2 separate regions of the Homo sapiens genome follow, and region 2 is linked to region 1. Evidence: promoter capture Hi-C in 16 types of primary human blood cells and fetal thymus (Javierre and others, 2016). All regions are on one chromosome and are shown on one strand. The core of a region is centred on a gene start or on the middle of the fragment in contact, and the rest is flanking DNA. Distances in the headings are between cores, read along the strand shown. Region 1 holds the start of METAP1 (methionyl aminopeptidase 1). Region 2 holds the start of LOC102723576 (a long non-coding RNA gene).

The links. The method cuts DNA at HindIII sites, captures the fragments that hold promoters and counts their contacts. A CHiCAGO score of 5 or more calls a contact.
Region 2: a fragment that was not itself captured here is called in contact with the fragment with the promoter of METAP1 in region 1 in 2 of 17 cell types (fetal thymus and total CD4 T cells); the score reaches 7.0 in fetal thymus.

What each region holds. Positions count from the first base shown.
Region 1 is chr4:98,993,134-98,998,417 of GRCh38, forward strand. METAP1 (methionyl aminopeptidase 1) reads left to right here and starts at 2,588. Exons shown (of 11, transcript NM_015143.3): 1 at 2,588-2,734. The coding sequence starts at 2,621. It overlaps MIR3684 (microRNA 3684), which reads left to right and starts at 4,254; the gene lies at 4,254-4,327. RefSeq lists enhancers at 2,030-2,079, 3,001-3,783 and silencers at 2,320-2,639, 2,800-3,259. The HindIII fragment of the contact is 4,143 bases long and covers 1-3,883 here.
Region 2 is chr4:99,402,390-99,407,673 of GRCh38, forward strand. It overlaps LOC102723576 (a long non-coding RNA gene), which reads right to left and starts at 2,991. Exons shown (of 5, transcript XR_939020.3): 1 at 1,932-2,991; 2 at 1,702-1,789; 3 at 444-579. RefSeq lists enhancers at 605-5,284, 1,222-1,496, 1,264-1,408, 2,382-2,571, cis regulatory regions at 1,274-1,285, 1,330-1,343 and a silencer at 3,123-3,417. The HindIII fragment of the contact is 4,923 bases long and covers 1-4,479 here.

The DNA of each region.
Region 1 (5,284 bases), core at 1,338-3,837:
TGCTTATTGGTGCATTTACAAACCTTGCACTAGATACAGAGTGCTGATTGGTGTATTCACAATCCCTTAGCTAGACATAAAGATTCTCCAAGTCCCCACCAGATTAGCTAGATACAGAGTGTGGATTGGTGCATCCACAAACCCTGAGCTAGACACAGGGTGCTGATTGGTGTGTTTACAAACCTTGAGCTAGATACGAGTGCTGATTGGTGTATTTACAATCCCTTAGCTAGACATAAAGGTTCTCCAAGTCCCCACTAGACTCAGGAGCCCAGCTGGCTACACCCAGTGGTTCCCGCACTGGGGCCGCAGGTGGAGCTGTCTGCCAGTCCCGAGCTGTAAGCCCACACTCCTGAGCCCTTGGGTGGTCCATGGGACCGGGTGCCCTGGAGCAGGGGGTGGCCCTCGTGGGGAGGCTTGGGCCACGTGGGCAGGAGCCCACGGTGGGGCCGGGGGAGGCTCAGGCATGGCGGGCTGCAGGTCCTGAGCCCTGCCCCGTGGGGAGGCAGGTAAGCCCCGGCAAGAAATCCAGCACAGCACTGGTGGGCCGGCACTGCTGGGGGACCCGGCGCACCCTCCGCAGCTGCTGGCCCAGGTGCTAAGCCCCTCACTGCCCGAGGCCGGCGGGGCCGGCCGGCCGCTCTGAGTGCGGGCCGCCAAGCCCACGCCCACCTGGAACTCTAGCTGGCCCGCAAGCGACGCACGCAGCCGCAGTTGCCACCCGTGCCTCTGCCACCACACCTACCACAAGCTGAGGGAACCGTCTCTGGCCTCGGCCAGCCCAGAGAAGGGCTCCCACGGTGCAGCGGCGGCTGAAGGGCTCCTCAAGCACGGCCAGAATGGGAGCTGAGGCCAGGAGGCACCGAGAGCAAGCAAGGGCTGCGAGGGCTGCCAGCATGCTGTCACCTCGCTGTCACCTCTCACTGTGAGCACCACTGCACTCCAGCCTGGTTGACAGGATGAGATGCTGTCTCAAAGAAAAACCAAACGACAAACAAAAAGTTGACATCATAGTAACTGAAGAAATCAGGTAAGTAAATTACTTTATATGGTATGGTGCAGTTTTTATTTAAAAAATATTTTATACATACATACATACTTATTGATTTTTTTCTTGTATACAAAAGTATATGTATGTATGCATGTAAACATTTCTATTACTTGATTTTATTACATCATTTTTACTGCTTATATTGCAAAACTAAGTTTTTTTTTTTTTGAGACATGGTCTTGCTCTGCCGTTTGGGCTGGAGTGCAGTGGCAGGATCATAGCTTACCATATCCTTGACTTCTCAGGTTCAACAGATCCTCCCAGCTCAGCCTCCTCAGTAGCTGGGACTACAGGCGCCTGCCACCATGCCCGGCTAATTTTTTAGTTTTTAGTTTTAGTTTTTGTAGAGACGGGGTTTTGCCATATTTCCACCCTGGTCTCGAACTCCTGGCCTCAAAGAATCCGCTGGCCTTGGTGCCCTGGATGCCCTGGCCTCTCAAAGTGCTGGGATTGATTACAGGCGTCAGCCACCGCTCCTAGCCAAAACAAAGTTCTTAAAAATAAAAGTAGTATGAGCTTTTCTGGTGTATTAAGTACGGAGAAGTTAAAAAAATACAATAACAAAGTTCACAGCCTTTTGTGATCAGTAAATGTTAGTTTTTCGCTCTTCCCTAGTGACAAGGAGGCACTCAAGCATGAGTTACAACACAACCGACCTGGAATACAGCTGAAAAGATTGAAGCAACAGGTTCGCAGGGGAAGGCCTTTACAGCTTCTTTCGACTCTGACATTTCAGGATCAGCACAATTCTCCCCTATTTACTGCTGAAGCAATCAACTGGGATTATACAAAAAAATTATTTGTATTGAATACCTGACAGTTGTGTTACTATTACTAGCACTATCGGTTTTGAAGGGGAGGTGGTGGTGTGTGGAAAAAAAAAGTCTGGCAGGAGGGAGGGCAGATGTGAATCCCAGCCCACCGTCCCGTTGACAGCTCTATGGCTCTCCTTTCTGTGAATGAGCGGTGGTCCTTAGGCCTCAGACCCGACAATGTCAGTGAGAAACAGAACTTAACCCAAGGGACTGTTCTCCAAGGAGCGGCGGGGGAATCCAACGCAGAGGAGCGCAGCGCCCTCTCTAGCCTCCTGCGGGTGTCGGGGATGATCAGGGCTCCTGGGTGTTCGTCAGTGAAGACGACTGTCTTATCTGACTGTAGGCACAGAGAGTGCGCCGCGAGAGGGCGGCTCCTCACCGTCAGGCGCCGGCAGGTCGCGTTCTCTGCTGGCCGACGCCCGAAGGCGCCGAATGGGGGGGCCCTGCCGAGCTCCCTTACAGCCCCAATGTGCGCGCCGCCGGGAGGCTTGGGCACGCAGGCACCGCCGGCGGGGGGCGGGGCGAAGCCGGCGGGGCGGGGCACCAGCTGCGCGCGCGGGGCGGGGGCGGGGCCGGGGCGGGGCGCGCTGCGTGGTCCCGGCCGGCCCTGGCTCCTCCCCCTCCCGCGCCCAGGCCAGCGGCGGGCCCAGCTCCTCCCCCGACTCGGTCTCTCTCCCCTCCCCTCCGCCCGGCAGTTCCTCCCTCCCGCCGCCGCCTCTTCCTCGGTGAGGCGCTCTTCCAGCGGGCAGGCAGCATGGCGGCCGTGGAGACGCGGGTGTGCGAGACAGACGGCTGCAGCAGTGAGGCCAAGCTCCAGTGTCCCACTTGCATCAAGCTGGGCATCCAGGGCTCGTACTTCTGCTCGCAGGTAGGCGCCCGCTGCCCCGCGGATATGCCGCCGCTGCGGGACCCCTCCTCGCTTCTCCCCTGCTGGCTCCTCCCGCCCTTGCGGCGAGTCGGGACGCGCTCCTCCTCTTCCCCCCGGCCGCGTTTCCTCCTCCCCCCACCCGCGTCGCCACCGCCCCCTCCTGCCTCCTGGGGTCCCTGGGTCCTCGGGAACCGCGCTGGGCTCACGCGGGGGCGGGGGCGCCACCCGCCGCGGCCATGTGGGCTGGGGCGGAAGCGGGCTGTGCGGGGTCGCGTGGCCGCGCTAGACCTCCGCGTTCTGGGGCCGGTTCCCCGCGCTGGGGCGGGGGCCGCCAGGTGTGCGGGCTGCCGGAGGCAGGTAGCGGCGCCGGGAAGGAGGGCAGCCCGAGCGTCGCGAGCCTCCACATCCGCAGCACCGGCGGGGCTCGGGTCTGGGCGCTGGAGGCGCCGGGCCGTCCGTCGGGTCCCTGCGGGGTGGGGGGCTGAAGCTACCTGCCGGGCTCTGAGAGATGGGTGGCCCGAGGACCGTCGGAGTCGCAGAGAGGAGGAACGCTAGCTAGCTCCAGCCCCACTTCTTTGTGCTTTACTACCGTGCTTTGACACTTAAGCAACTTTGGGGGTGGGGAAGGGAGAGGTCTGTGTAATTCATTCTTTTCTTTCGGTATATAAAATTATTAATTTACAAAACTGTAAGCTAACGGGATGAGTCACCTGTGACTGAATTTCCCAGAGTGAAAAGGACAGTTCCATTGAGGGTTAGGCGTGAATGCTGTAGTGTATTTTAAGTTTTGTGCAGTAGAGCAAACCCAGCGTTGAATGGGGTCCAGACTGAAGCGTGTGCTCGTGTTTCTGTTTACTGAAGAGTACTAGTGTTGCTGCTGCATTTCGAGACCCAGGATGAGGGCTGGGCGGCAATAGTATGGCTCTTAGTTACAGTCCAGGTTTAGTGAAGAGAGGCACATGAATATTCAAATATTAAATTGGTAGCGTCCTGTGGGGAGGAGAGCCGGAATAAAGAGAAGGCCTGATTGGGGCCCTGCCCTTGCCAGTTATTGTGCGATCTTGAATTAGTAAAGTTACTTAATCTTTCTGAGTTCCAGTGTTACACTGTACAGAGGGGATGATTATAGCTTTCTTTGTAAGTTTCACAAGCTTCTTCTGAGACCCAGATTATCCAAGGAACGTGAAATGCTGTTATAATGTAAAGTCCTTTATTTTTTAAAGGATTCTAGTACGATTTAACTCTGCCATAAATAAAAATATGAATAAGAATGAAGGCAGATATATGAACACAATACAAATAATAAAAGTGTTTTCCAACATAAAACATAAAAACGTAAAGATATAAATAAATACAATCTTTACGTCACAATATTTGTAGATAAGCGATTGCAAAAGGTCTTAGCTGTGTTATACAGTCTTGTTTTTAGATAGGATATGATCCTTGACCTTGTTAGTATAATTTGGAAAAACTTGCACGTGGAGGAGTGTTGCTTGATCTAAAAATAGCATTACCGAACAATCTAAAGGACCTGTACTAGGTTTAACATGTTGAGCATTACTCATGTTAGACCTAGTACACGTCCTTTAGATTCTTTAAAATTCCCAAATTCTATCTTGTTGTGGCCTGTGTGGGACCTGAAATTAAGAAACAGTGTTTGCTTTTGACAGTTGTACCATCTGAGTAGAATAACTTTAAAAGTAGGTGGCATTTTGAATTAATATGTATTACAATCTTCTGTTAAGATTTTAAAAAGGTAGTGTGAAACCACATTCATGAAACAGGTAGAAAGAAGGTGAATCACTGGGGTTTGTGGAAAAATGCTAGACAAATTTGTGAAAACAAAACATCTAGGGTTTATTCCGTGTGTTAGGATTGGAGGTATTTACATGTTGGATTCTGCAGGTATATTTCTGGTATCACTGTTAGACATGCACTCAAATATTCCCAGAGTGGCTGTCCCAACTGTCTCTTTTTCTTCATTTCTGTTACCACCTCCTATGGTCAGCTTTTAAAATTTCCCACCAAATCAGTTGTCATACTCTCTTAATTTATTTCTCTACTGTAATTCCTCCCCTTGCAAACAAACGCCCACAAAAAACCCTATCAAACAAAACCTTTTGTACAGAAGTTATTTTTCCCGCAGTCTGATTATGCGTATCCCTCATTGCTTTCAGGATTCCAGCCCCACATTCAGGGCCCCTCTTCTGAGCCTCTTGCTCTAGCCAAAGGCTATGTTTACATTCTTTCCTTTCCGAAGTGTCACCTGTCTTCTGAAATCACAGCTGTTCCCCCAATCCCAGCTTGAGACCTTGATCAAGTCACTGTAACTTATTCTAAGCGCTTTATACATCTGTGATGAAATATGGGCTTGGCTGGGCATGGTGGCTCACACCTGTAATCTCAGCACTTTGGGAGGCCTAGGCGGGTGGATCACCTGAGGTCAGGAGTTTGAGACCAGACTGGGCAACATGTCAAAACCCTGTCTCTACTAAAAATACAAAAATTAGCTGGGCGTGGTGGCACACGCCTGTAGTCCCAGCTACTCAG
Region 2 (5,284 bases), core at 768-3,267, 410 kb after region 1:
AGGCATGAGCCTTCATACCTGGCCTCTGGCCTCTTTTATAAGAGCACTAACCCCATTCATAAGGCCTTTTCCCCCATGACCTAATTACCTTCCAAAGGCTCTGCCTCCAAATACTATCAAGGGGATTGGGGGTTTTAGAATTTTAACATATGAGTGCTGGGGTTACATAAACTTTCAGACCGTAGCAAACACCTCACAGGTAGAACTAGCATAAGGACTCTGGGATGTTTATTCATCCAAAAGGGTTTCTTTAGGGCCTGAGTACTCCACGGGCTACACCCAACATATAACTAAACAAGACAGTCATGTGACATTTAGAACTTGATCCACCATTCCACCTGTGCAGCATCTGAAAATCTGGTGAGTGGAGGTTTAAGGAAATAAGTTGGAGCAGCCCATGTATTGCAGCAGTTCCCAAGCACTGAAAGTAGTAAGACTCTTACTTTAGTTCACTGGAGACTGAGGGCATCAGATTCTCCCACCTTCGGCATTAGCTCCCAAGGCTGTTCTCACTTCCGTTCATGGGATGCAGAAAATACTGACCCCAGCAGGAGGCAGTCTCCTTCTATGTCTCCAATGCTACAGAGAAGCACCAAAATCATAAGGATCCAAATGCTGAAAGGCTAATAGAAAGAATCCTTCAACCTGATGGAGAGTTGCGGGCATATCTCCTTTATGTCCCTATTTTTTCAGAAGAGCATTGCATGCCCTGCTCCCAACCTCCCCAACCCCATTTCTCCTGCCTTAGCCAAACCCATGTCTGAGCTAGGAGAAGAAGGTGAGCTCTTTTGACTATATATAAAGCCATAATAATAATATTAAAAAGTTCACTTTGGATTTCTATCACCATTCCTTTTCACCATGTGGTAAGCAGCTAAAGCCCAAAAGGACCTGGGGCACTCATAACCACATGCTTCACATGCATCACTCTTCTGCTGGAACCAAGGCAAAGGAGCTCCACTGGCACCCCAAAACCTCAGTTGAGACCACTTCTTAAACACTCCTTTCACTACCCCTGTGCTTTAACATGACTTATTTTCTATAAAGTTGTAAGAAAGTGGTAAGATTTTCTTAATCAACTACCCCTGTTGGGGGGGCCCAGCCCATAAGGAAGCCCCTTCTTTTAAAAGATCTGTTACTGTAGGCTTTGATCATCACTTTGGGAATACTTGTGAAAACTGTTAGAAGTTTGTCCTGGTGATTTTTACCATATTTCTGAATTCTGATTCTGAAAGCTGAGCTAATCATACACGGGATTAACGGTGCTTTAAAAGTTAATGGTTAATGATTAAAACACTTATGTTCTTGACTCTCCCTAAACTGAATTGTGGATGCAAAGTTCAAGAGAGAGAAACCAGTCAATACTGGAGCTGAAACAGACTGAAAACAAAATATGTTACCTAATGCTGAGCCTGTAACAGCAATGCAACTCTGAAACTAGATATGGCCTCATAGCTTCCTGGAATCTGAAAATAGTTACCTCAAAACTCATACTCAAAATAATGCCATAAAAAATACACAAAGTTCCAACTTTGTTTCTCAAAGAGCAAGATTTTTCATTCTCATTTTTAGGGAAAGAAACCATGTGTTAAATGAGAAAACAGAATCCAGCTACTCAACAAAGAGTGGGTGTGATCAGAAGGTGTGGTGCCGAATATCCTGCTTCAAGTCCCCAGCGTGTTTCATAAATTAGTAGCTTACCTTGGCAGAGAAAACAGATTCATTTTTCCCAGTAATTTGCCTTTTCGAGATGGAAATCTCCTTTTGAGCAGCACATTTTTCTATAGCCCTGAAAAGACCAATTTATATTTAAATGCATAATACACTCAGAATTTAAAAGGGGAAGGTAGTCATCACAAAAGTCAACTGCAAATTTCACATTGGCTTTAATTTCCCTATAGAACACCAGTTTATCAAATCTGAAGACTTACTTCATCAGTTCTTGATCTTAGAGGGTCTTTCAGCTTTGAGGAGTATCAGGGGCAAAGTGCTAATTTAGACAATAAACAAGCGCATTGTCTTTCTCTTGCTAAGACTGCAAAGGGTAACAGTATGTCAAATTGCTTTTCTTCTGACTGGGCTGAAAAACTCAGTCTGGTATCCCTAGTTATTTTTTACTTAACAGAAGCTCGGCATTAATGTGTGGCTTGGTTAATAGCAATGAGAAAAATAGTTACTACTTTAAAATGTTGTCTAGTAGAAGAGTTACCTCAAAACCTGAATCCTAAGAGGGGGCTATCAAAATGAAAGAGAAATTGATGATGACTCATTAATGAAACATAAGTCATTGAAATGTGGTCTATGATGGTCAGCCTCTTCCTGTGGTTGGTGAATCATTTCACCAGCAATTCTCAATCACATTTGGCCACTGCTCCTCTCAGGCAGCCCCTTGGCTATAGCTCCACTCCATCACTTGCCAGATTCTAGTAACTTCCTTGTCATCGACCTTCAGGCCTAGGGGCAATAATAGCTTCCCACTGTAGCGAAACCCTGGATACTTCAACATCCCTTATTGGAGTGATTAACCCTGCCTGTACCTCTGGAAAGAAAATTATCTCCCATTAAGCCCTAACTTGATTAAACAGGGGTTCCCTGCTAAGACCCTGACTGATACAGGTCCTACCTTCAGGTTTTCCACCAGACAAATCAATAAGCAGTGACTACTCAGCATGAGTACTACTGTGATGGAAATTCTAGTTCTCAGCCTAATCAGTAAGACGTTAACCAACATAAGGAACTGAGAAAATGTAACATGAAGAATGTAGCAACCACTGAATGCTTAGGGTTGAATGAACAAAACCATTCTTTCAACCTACAATTATAAATTTAGAACCTATAGGTAGAGGAATTGTGTGCGGGAATTAGAACACTTAAAATAGGAGAATGGGATCATTCTGTGGGATTAAACACTAATAAATGCAAATAAAGTATAAAAAGATAGACTTGAAGTCACATTGAAGATATAAGCAATCTCCCCCAATAATTCCCTTAGTATATGAAACTGTAAGCAAGATAATAATTTACATACTGATCAGATCATTTTATGTCCATTTTTCTCATTCCTAAAGCAGTTCCCAGGGCCTGCATGACAAAAGTGGGAGGATGAGCTTTACTCAAGTTGCTCAGCCAGTCCAGCATTTCTGGGTTTGATGTCTCCATCAAGCACAAAATTCTCAACTGTGGCCTTATTTTCTCAGTTCTGCTGGAAAAGAGAAGCAATCAAGGCAGTTGGAAAAATGTCCCAAGATAGGAGTGGTTATTTCTGTTTCTCTTCCTAGCGTCAGCATGAACTCACTGATAGCTAAATGCTGCCACCTTCCTGCCCTCATAAGTACTGCAGAGGAAACCAATCCTGAAAGGCCCAAACTGGATGGAATTAGAGACCATTATTCTAAGTGAAGTAACTCAGGAATGGAAAACCAAACACTGTATGTTCTCACTCATAAGTGGGAACGCAAATGAGGACGCAAAAGCATAACAATGGTACAGTGAACTTTGGGGACTCAGGGGAAAGGGTGGGAGAAGGGTGGTACAGTGTACACCGCTCAAGTGATGGGTGCTCCAAGATCTCAGAACTCACCACTAAAGAACTTATTCGTGTAACCAAACACCACCTGTTTCCCACAAATCTATTGAAATTAAAAAAAGGAAAAAGAAAAAGAAAGAGAAAAATTATTTTTTAAAAATCGAGTATGGAGAACCTCAAAAAAAAAAAAAAAAAAAAGGAAAGAAAAGAAAAGAAACACTGGTGGATCTCTATTCTTGTTAGCTTCTCTGCCAGCGGCTGGAGTTAGATGAATAGACCTGTGAAAGAACAAACACATAAACAGAAAATTAAATGATAACATGATACACGAAAAGAGACTTATACCAGGTTACAAAGAGACAGCAGACACATTGAGATCAGAGGAGATATTCTGGAGGAGTGAAGATAAAACTAAACCCTAAAAAATGAGCAGGAATTTGCCAAGACAAAGGGGAAGGATGAGAGAATATTCAAGGAGGAGGAGTAGCAAGACAGAAAGCAAGAAAGAAAATAAAACCCTGCATGGTGTGCGCAGCATTTTAATGTTGTCTGAGAATGTTGGGTAGTGCAGGGAGCAATGGGAACCCATCTCGAGGGGCCCTTGATGCCTATTAATAATCTTGGAGGCAAAGTAAAGCCCCTGAATATTTATTAAGCAGAAGTGGCATGGTCAGATTTGCCTTTTGGATATTACAGTCTGGGGACAGTGGGAAAGCTATATCTGAAGGGAGTAAGACAAGAGGCAAGGTATGTGAAATTTCTTGAAGTTCTCTTTGTAATTATCCTGAAGAAAGACAAGAAGATAGCAAAATTTCTCTTTAAGTATTGGTGATTTTCTAAAGAAAAATGAAAAATTAAGTCACAAAGACCATGTTTTTGGTGAGTACTGAGTAAACATTTTGAAACTCAGTAAATCTCACCAGAAGAATATCGTAATTCCCAAAGTAGAACTAAGCTTAGAACCGAGCTTGTCTCCAATGAATGATAATGGAGGTAAATCCATGGTAATTAGACCCTGAATCCTCTGCCTTGATTTTAAGAGAGAAACAAGCCAATGAAAGATAAGTATCCTTCTTCTTAAAGAAAACGGAGGAATAAGAAAGAGTTCCTGCTCTGATGGAAAGAAGGAGGGCAGAGATAAAACCTACGCCTAGGTGTTTGGCATTACCTCCATCCTTTTCAGGTGGTGGTCTATTCCCCTCTCTCCTACATGAACAAGAATCTGCTGGGGCTCAAGCAGAGCTGGTCACAATGAACAGAGCATCTCCTCTACATTCTACACATCCTGTCCATGCTGGGACCGTGAGGTATCCTGCTCTAAGGCTTGAAGTGAGAGAATGTGGATGTATTAGTTCATTCTCACACTGCTATAAAGAACTGCCCAAGGATGGGTAATTTATAAAGGAAAGAGATTCAACTGACTCACAGTTCAGCACGGCTTTGGAAACTTACAATCATGGCAGAAGGCAAAGTGGAAACAAGGCACCTTCTTCACAAGGCAGCAGGAAGGAGAAGAGCAAAGAAGGAAGAGCCCTTTATGAAACCATCAGATCTCATGAGAACTCACTCACTATCACGAGAACAGCATGGGGAAACTGTCCCCATGATTCAGTTACCTCCACCTGGTCTGTCCCTTGACATATAGGGATTATGGGGATTATGGGAATTATAATTCAAGATGAGATTTGGGTGGGGACACAAAGCCTAACCATATCAGTGGAGAATGAGTGTGATGCTGCTTTCTCCTTTGCTCTCAAA